Linked DNA regions of Homo sapiens: all the other regions are linked to region 1. Evidence: promoter capture Hi-C in 16 types of primary human blood cells and fetal thymus (Javierre and others, 2016). All regions are on one chromosome and are shown on one strand. Each heading gives the region's core, a stretch centred on a gene start or on the middle of the fragment in contact. The rest is flanking DNA. Distances are from core to core; before and after follow the strand shown. Region 1 holds the start of TAS2R38 (taste 2 receptor member 38). Region 2 holds the start of TAS2R5 (taste 2 receptor member 5). Region 3 overlaps MGAM2 (maltase-glucoamylase 2 (putative)).

Evidence for each region. Contacts are between HindIII fragments. The CHiCAGO score rates a contact against its expected background, and 5 or more counts as called.
Region 2: the fragment with the promoter of TAS2R5 here is called in contact with the fragment with the promoter of TAS2R38 in region 1 in 4 of 17 cell types (monocytes, M0 macrophages, M1 macrophages and 1 more); the score reaches 6.3 in monocytes.
Region 3: a contact is called between a fragment that was not itself captured here and the fragment with the promoter of TAS2R38 in region 1, in 1 of 17 cell types (megakaryocytes). The highest score is 5.6, in megakaryocytes.

The regions. Positions count from the first base shown.
Region 1 is chr7:141,972,198-141,975,160 of GRCh38, reverse strand. TAS2R38 (taste 2 receptor member 38) reads left to right here and starts at 1,388. Exons shown (of 1, transcript NM_176817.5): 1 at 1,388-2,530. The coding sequence starts at 1,472. The coding sequence ends at 2,473. The HindIII fragment of the contact is 7,298 bases long and covers 1-2,963 here.
Region 2 is chr7:141,788,827-141,791,789 of GRCh38, reverse strand. It overlaps TAS2R5 (taste 2 receptor member 5), which reads right to left and starts at 1,573. Exons shown (of 1, transcript NM_018980.3): 1 at 423-1,573. The coding sequence starts at 1,428. The coding sequence ends at 529. The HindIII fragment of the contact is 7,447 bases long and covers 1,231-2,963 here.
Region 3 is chr7:142,135,970-142,138,932 of GRCh38, reverse strand. MGAM2 (maltase-glucoamylase 2 (putative)) reads right to left here. Exons shown (of 48, transcript NM_001293626.2): 8 at 2,293-2,392; 9 at 1,388-1,500; 10 at 266-391. Among named protein-coding and RNA genes, the nearest start is that of MGAM2, 26 kb to the right of the region's middle. The HindIII fragment of the contact is 664 bases long and covers 1,106-1,769 here.

The DNA.
Region 1 (2,963 bases), core at 139-2,638:
ATCTTGATATAAATGGTTCTAACTGTATAGTTATATATCTCTGCTTGTGCAGTAGAGCAAGTTTCTACCTAGACTTTTTAGGGAGGCAAACATCTTTTCTAAACACCTTTAGTGCAACACCGCCACCTGGTGTGGTGAAGACAAGGAGAAAATTAGCTTAAGTTGAAAGTGCAGAATTCTGTGTTTGACACTCTGTAAGCATGAATGACCCAAATGAAGTGGTCACAAACACAATTAATTAAATACAACTGCTACATCATGATGCACAAATAAGGACTACATAAATATCTGCGTATGAACAGTTCAGAATAAAACAAAAGTGAACATCTTTAGTAATCACTGACTTATGTCACTACTAATAATAAAAAAGGAGCTTTAGTCAAAAGAAAACATAAAAAATACAAAGAGAAAGTATCGAAAAACACCAATGGGGCAGCACCAATAACTCTTAAAGGATTTATCGGGGGAAATTCACTCATAAGTGGCAGTTGAACAATGAGAACACATGGACACAGGGAGGGGAACATCAAACACCAGGGCCTGTCAGGGGGTAGGGGGCAAGGGGAAGGAGACCATTAGGAGAAATACCTAATATAGATAACGGGTTGATGGGTGCAGCGAACCACCATGGCAGGTGTATGCCTATGTAACAAGCCTGCATGTTCTGCACATGTACCCCAGAACTTATACTAATTAAAAAATAAACATAATAATAATCCAAACCAGCTATGCCCCCTTTCCTCTCCCTTCATGACAGCGTGCTAGTCTTGTTCATGTTAATATTCTCCTTGCCAGGCACAGTGCCTGGCATAATAATGATGATTGCATGAAACCTTTGGCAACAGCAAATAAAACTGCAATCATACACTGACACATGGAAAGGAACCATGCATTTATCTATATTAAAAACACAGTCTGTGATAAGAGTCATTACTTCACAGATGAGAGAAGGAATGCAAATGAAAAGAGACTCTATTTCAAACCTTAGATCACCAAGAATATCTGCTTTGCCTGCTGCAGGGTGCCTCAAAACCCATAAGCAAATCCTGTTCTCTTCGCCACCCCCACAGGTCCAGATGGGCATGCAAAACTGGATTGGGGAAATTGAGGCCCTGTTTTGTTTGCATCCGTGATGCTGTGCTATGGCCTTCTGGGAAGGCGGTTGTACAGGAACACCTGGATTTATTAATCTTGCATCACCCAAGAGGTAGAACCATCAGTCTTCCACCCTATGATAAGCTCTTACGTGTATCCAAGAGATGTTCTAGAGAAACAACATCCCTCTAAGTTTCCTGCCAGAACTTTTTATGCGCTCGCTTTGGGATAGATCTAGGCAAAGAGCTGGATGCTTTGTGAAGGAAAGGTCCTGGCTTGGAACGTACATTTACCTTTCTGCACTGGGTGGCAACCAGGTCTTTAGATTAGCCAACTAGAGAAGAGAAGTAGAATAGCCAATTAGAGAAGTGACATCATGTTGACTCTAACTCGCATCCGCACTGTGTCCTATGAAGTCAGGAGTACATTTCTGTTCATTTCAGTCCTGGAGTTTGCAGTGGGGTTTCTGACCAATGCCTTCGTTTTCTTGGTGAATTTTTGGGATGTAGTGAAGAGGCAGGCACTGAGCAACAGTGATTGTGTGCTGCTGTGTCTCAGCATCAGCCGGCTTTTCCTGCATGGACTGCTGTTCCTGAGTGCTATCCAGCTTACCCACTTCCAGAAGTTGAGTGAACCACTGAACCACAGCTACCAAGCCATCATCATGCTATGGATGATTGCAAACCAAGCCAACCTCTGGCTTGCTGCCTGCCTCAGCCTGCTTTACTGCTCCAAGCTCATCCGTTTCTCTCACACCTTCCTGATCTGCTTGGCAAGCTGGGTCTCCAGGAAGATCTCCCAGATGCTCCTGGGTATTATTCTTTGCTCCTGCATCTGCACTGTCCTCTGTGTTTGGTGCTTTTTTAGCAGACCTCACTTCACAGTCACAACTGTGCTATTCATGAATAACAATACAAGGCTCAACTGGCAGATTAAAGATCTCAATTTATTTTATTCCTTTCTCTTCTGCTATCTGTGGTCTGTGCCTCCTTTCCTATTGTTTCTGGTTTCTTCTGGGATGCTGACTGTCTCCCTGGGAAGGCACATGAGGACAATGAAGGTCTATACCAGAAACTCTCGTGACCCCAGCCTGGAGGCCCACATTAAAGCCCTCAAGTCTCTTGTCTCCTTTTTCTGCTTCTTTGTGATATCATCCTGTGCTGCCTTCATCTCTGTGCCCCTACTGATTCTGTGGCGCGACAAAATAGGGGTGATGGTTTGTGTTGGGATAATGGCAGCTTGTCCCTCTGGGCATGCAGCCATCCTGATCTCAGGCAATGCCAAGTTGAGGAGAGCTGTGATGACCATTCTGCTCTGGGCTCAGAGCAGCCTGAAGGTAAGAGCCGACCACAAGGCAGATTCCCGGACACTGTGCTGAGAATGGACATGAAATGAGCTCTTCATTAATACGCCTGTGAGTCTTCATAAATATGCCTCTGATTCTTCAGGAATACAACTCTGATTCCTCACAAAGCCTTCCAATTTCTTCTATAAAACACAATTGAAAGTCTCTCCACTTTGTATCAATGAACTCACTTATAGATGAATAAAATAATTAAGCACTATACATGGCCTAGGCAAGAATAATGTTGGTACCCTAGGTTTGTTTTGATAAAATGAACAAAATAATTAAGTATTTGGTGTAAATCCTTTATATACTATAGCTTATTATTGGTATAAATCAAACCATGAGAAATCATCTCTTCTGAAATAATATCTAAATCCCAAGATAATATGTTTGGCTTTTAACATGACTGTTAAACCTCTTTCTCGGAACTTGTGCTAGCATCATTTTTGGAAATATTCACTACTACAATAAGGATATAATCCTCTTCAAACTTCGCAATTTTCATGGAAACAAAGACAAA
Region 2 (2,963 bases), core at 324-2,823, 180 kb after region 1:
GTTTTGTTTTTCAGTTAGATAATTAGATACATTACAGCAGAGAAATGGGGAAATTATTTGATACTTTTTAAAAAGCATATCTAAAATGACTAACATTAATGTATAGGTAAAATTTCATAAAAATTAATGATCACTATAATTGTTCCTAATCTCTGTTTTCTATACTAGGAAAAACACAATTTATATATGAATTTTTGCTATATGTAGACAGAATTGTTCCTAATCTCTGCTTTTTATAATAGGAAAAACACGATTTATATATGAATTATTTGCTATATGTAGAGAGAATATAATACCTCTTTTACCAAACATGAAGCCCTAGCCTTGATTTCTGTGGTACATTAAAAAAATATACTTTGCATTGCCAAAAGAGACATAGTATTGGGTTTTGATCCGTATTTTCTGTTGCTCATTCATTACATTGGTGTAAAAGAAGGAAAATCTTAAAAGACATGGAAAGCAGCTCCCTTATAGAGAGCTATCAAAAGAGCGTCCCAAGAGTGTCCTGACCACACTTTTCTTCCCAGATCATGGGCCCCAGCATCTCCGAGCACACACTGTCTTCCACAGGATCTTCTGACAAGTCTGCTTCACCCTAGGAATCCCCATGATCAATATGAGAGAATGAAGAGAAGGATAGGCTGCCATGAGTGTCTCCCAGATGAAGACACTGGTGAGATCAGGAGGATAAGTCTTGGAGGTGATGGAGAAGGGGCTGGCCATGATATAAACCAGGTGAAGTAAGAGGAAGCAGCCCAAGGACTTCAGCGCAGTGATGTGAGCCTTGGCCCGGACATCCCTCCTACCAGCTGAATGGACCTTCATCTTCTTGTGGTGTGTATACAAAGAGACAATCAGCATCCCAGAGGAAACAAGAAACACCACTAAAGGCAAATAACTTCCTGAATTGAGCTGAAATGCATACAGGTACTGCCAGCTTTCAAAGGGATACCGAATGCTGCTGTTTCCTTGGGGAGGATGATAGAATGTTAAGCCAATTTGGACTGTAAGTAACAAATTGATTATAAAGTAGCCCAGAAGGCACCAGAGACTCAGGTTATAGGCCCTCTGCTTCAGCCACAAGTAGGCCGGGCGATCGAAGGTCGTGATCTTCTTGCAATAGAAGACACTGAGGAAGGTGGCAAACCATAAGCTGGCCTGGCTTACCAGGACCCAGAAGATACTAAGATAGCGAAGCCAACGGCTGCTCTGGAAAAGTGGAAACAAGCTTAAGTCCAAAATGATCAGCCACTGCAGGAGAAATCGGCAGCCAGCCAGGCCCAGGATAATGAGGTTATATGAGGACCAGTTGAATTTTCTGATCCATTCTCTAAAACTCCAGACCACCAGGCTTCCATTTCCAATTAAACCGATGAGAAATTCAACCACTGCCACCAGCATCAGCAGTCCTAGGCCAGCGCTCAGCATGGCTGGGGAGAGGAGGCTCTCACTGCTCCTGGCTGAGGTCAGATCCCCTGGTAGTGATAACACACCAGGGTAAATTTTCACACCACAAAATCTGGATTTGGCCTCGTCCTTCCGTAATCTGTCTTCAAGCGAGACTGAACAGCTGTGATGAGGAACAGAGAGGTTGGAAGTTATGATACCATCTGTATTTGCATCTACATGAATGAACCCTGAGTGTAGAACCAGAGATTGCAAACAGTACCACAGACACCGGCTCTCCATCTCAAAGGTTTTGGGCCAAAGTCTAGACACCAGGGTATAACGTAACAAGGCCCCTCAACAAGAAAGACCAAATCAAAACATGCTCAGGTGCTATACAGTGCCAGTTATGAGCTCATATGCTATATAAAAAAAGAAATTTTATTTTCATGAAAAGAACACTGGGCCAGGCATGGTGGCTCACACCTGTAATCCCAACACTTTGAGAGGCCAAGGCGGGTGGATCACCTGAAGCCAGGAGTTCGAGACCACCCTGGCCAACATGGTGAAGCCCCATCTCTACTAAAAATACAAAAATTATCTGGGCGTGGTGGTGGCTGCCTGTAGTCCCAGCTACTCGGGAGGCTGAGGCAGGAGAACCACTTGAACCCAGGAGATGGAAGCTGCAGTGGGCCAAGATCGCGCCACTGCACTCCAGCCTGGGCGACAGAGCAAGACTCCATCTCAAAAAAAAAAAGTAAGCATGCTGAGAACTCTCTACGAAGCTGTAGGCAGGCAGGCCACTGCCCGTCTCTGGGCCTCAGTTGCTCTATTAATAACTGAATGGATTGTAGGATGAGATTTCCATTCCTTCGGACTAAATTTACAAAGTGCTTATTTTGTGTCAAACTACGGTGTACTAGGCACAGGGGACGGCGCCATTATAATACACAGTCCCTGCCTCCAGGTAGCATCCATTGTACATCATCTCCACCAAGCTGCAAGGCCTGGTACTCTAAAACTCTGGCTGTAGGCTATGGAGGGGCAGAGGTGGTCGCGATCTTCTACTGGACTAAAAATCTAGATGAGGCTTGAACTCGTCCAAAAACAGTGTTTCTTCAGTGACTTTCTGATAGAGACATAGTGCCTCTCTCTCCCCACCTGCCCCAATCTAGCCTGGCAGTGGAATTTGCCACCGATCCTGGTAGCCAACTGACACGTTTCCAGAAAGCTAGTCTGGCATCAAAAAAACCAAAGTATCCAGAAATATAAAGGTAGGTTTTTGACTACTTTACTACCGGTGTTGAGAGGCTAAACTACATAGAAAATTGAGATAATAATTTAGCTAATTCCCCTAAGAAAAGTGCTTGCCTAAAAAATATACAGGCTCACCTCTTTTTAAAATATATTATTTTCAAACTATAGCTATTTTCTACTTCCTTTTATCAAAAACATAGCATATTGGCAAAGAAAACTTGATTATCTGCAGTAATTTTTAAAAATGTGATACTTCCCATGCAAAATATGAAAACTCGGTTTTGACTTCTGTAGTTTATTAAAATGATGTGATTTGCATT
Region 3 (2,963 bases), core at 188-2,687, 160 kb before region 1:
GCTCAGAGATGTTAATTAACTGGCGCAACATTGCACAGAGCTATGAAGAGGTAAAGCTAAAATTCAAAGCCACCTCTATCAGGCTTCATTAACAGTATACTTTTCATGCTCAGATACATAACTTAACATGCAAATTTCTGCCAGCAAGTGTGCCTGTCTATCAATCTAATGATTTATCTACATTTTTCCTAATACATTGAATTTAATGCAAAAAATAAAAATGGGAATTGGTGTCAACTGCATGGTAAAAGAAGTTTCGACTTACATATGGTATCTCAGCTAAACGATTTCGGCTTACAACTTCTTTCAATTTATTGATGCCACCATAGTCCCTGCGACTAAGCTGGAACCCAAGACTCCAATAGGGAGGGAAGAATGGCCGTCCAACAAGCTGAAAAGATAAGTAAGTGTGTAGGCTTTGAGAATAACATTAGCCCCATTTCATTTTCTGTGAAGTTCCCAGAGCTGAAAACGTCAGAGCTAAGAGTAATCTGCTAGAATAATTTGTGAAATTCCACAATCACATCCTTCTTTACTAAGTACATAAATGTATTCCCAACATCAGATCAGACACTAATAAAATTTGCAGAAAATGTTTCAGTAATGGTGTCATCTTAGGGGAAACTGGTGACATTCATTATTCTATAAGTGTTTTTCTGAATATTTGTTCACAGTGTGGCAAGGGCTAATATGGGCACTTGGAATATAGTGGCACAGAGCAAACATAGCTCCTGCCCTCAGAGAGCTTAGAGGAAATAAATAAATGCCTAATATAATTTCAGATAGTGGTGTGTGCAAAGGGTAAAGGAATAAGAATGGATGGGATTAGGAGTGAGATTACAGGCACACGCCACCATGCCCAGCTAATTTTTGTATTTTTAGTAGAGACAGGGCTCTGCCATGTTGGCCAGGCTGGTCTCAACCTCCTGACCTCAAGTGATTCGCCCACCTTGGCCTCCCAAAGTGGTGGAATTACAAGCATGAGCCACTGCAGCCAACCTCAAGCGTCTTCCTTTTCTATAATTTGAGTCAAATGTGAATAGCTAGCAAAGTTTATTCAGGTAGTTCCTTTTCACTGAATTTTAACTTATTGAATGAATAAGCTTTGCTGATTTGTGGGATACATGAATGGACTATGAGTTACTTGAAAGCAGGATGGTGTCTGACTTCTTTTTGCATTTCTCAAGCCTTGCACAGTGTCTCTTTGGAATGCAGAAAGCACCCAATAAAGGTCATCAAAATAAATAAACAATAGATGAAAGACTCACTATCCCAGCATTTATAATCCATACAGTTTACTAATACCTTTTATTTTTCTTTTATTAATTTATAATGAGTATATGAGATAACAGCAGTAAATAATGACTATCTAAATGCAAAGACATACCTCCAAGTATTCCTGAACCACTTGTTCTGGAGTGTTTCCTAGGAATACGTAAAAGTCAAGAATGCCTCCAATCGTGCGATAAGTGATCGCAGGAGCTGGCTGAAGGGTAACCTCTGAAAAAATTATAATGAGATTAATTAGAATCTTATGGTTGGAAGTAAACTCTTCTCTGCAGTAGAAATAGTTGAGCCACCTAAAAGAGTCTCAGTCTCATTTTGAAAGGGATGAAAATCACACTGTCTTTTTATCAGAGGATCGTTGTTGGAGTTTATCAAAGTATTGAATGTGTAAGACACCAATGAAGAATTGAGTTTTGTTTTTTTTTTTTTAAGATAAAGAAGAACAAATTGTATTTTAACCTGGCCACATAAAAATACAAGCTTCTGGGTTTTGCGAGTAGCTTCACTCAAAAAACGTTATAAAAATTTTATTAGATGAGTTTGACTACAATTAAATATTTAAAAATAAATAAAAATGCTTATGAGAGTACCATTAATCCAGAAGCTGGAGAAGGAAGATTTGGAGTGGGGAAAGTGTGGGTGGGCTGTGAGAAACAGCCTACAAAACACAGCCTTGTTGCCTACAGACAGAAAGCACAATTTACACGTTGAAATCTACAGATATTTTTGGAATGCGTCTATCAGTGGATCCTATTTTCTACAGACTATGAGGGGAAACATTATACCAAAGAAGACCCCTGAAGTGGTTTTCAATGAAAACAATGTCAAGTATCACCTGGATTTGTAGACAGATTAACCTACTTTCAGGTTCCAGTTTCAATAAAAGTATTGTAGGTTCAAAATGCCTTCTGTTCAACAGTTGATCTCACCATAAAAGTAATTTTTTATAAAAGCAGAATCCTAAAACGTATTCCTACCTACAGAAGATAAAAAGATGCTTCCTACCCATGGCATTACTGTTCATCAGAAATACTCCAAAAGAGGAGCCCCTGGCATCTTCAAGGCACAAGAAGAATGTATGAGCTCCATACAGATTAATCATGCCCTATCAGCAAAACAGAAGAAAAGTCATAGTGTTATGTGTTGAGAAAGTTTTCATTCACCCTAAAATAAATTCAAAAGCCATCTATAACATATACTTGGTCAACACTTCATGTAGTTTAACATTGTATCAAAAAGGCATTGTAATGATATTATCAACTGGAAAATGAATAAACAAAATATGGTATTATCTATACAAAAGAATTCCATTCAACAACAGTAAAATAATCATACACACTGCAATATAAATAAACCTTGAAAGTGTTATGCTAAGGGAAAGAAACAGACACAAACAACCATATATTGTATGATTTCATTGATATGAAATATCTAGAAAAGTCAAATCTATAGGGACAGAAAGTAGGTTAGTAATTGGTTAGGGCTGAAGCAAGCTCTGGAGTTTAAGTCTCAAAGGGCAGAAGGGATCCTATTGCGGTGATGTCAAAGCTATAGAACTGGATTATGACGATGCTTGTCTAACTCAGTATATGTGCTCAAAGTCATTGAATTGCACACTTAAAACAGATGAATTTTTTGGCCTATGAATTATAACTCAATCAAGTTATTTTGTAAAC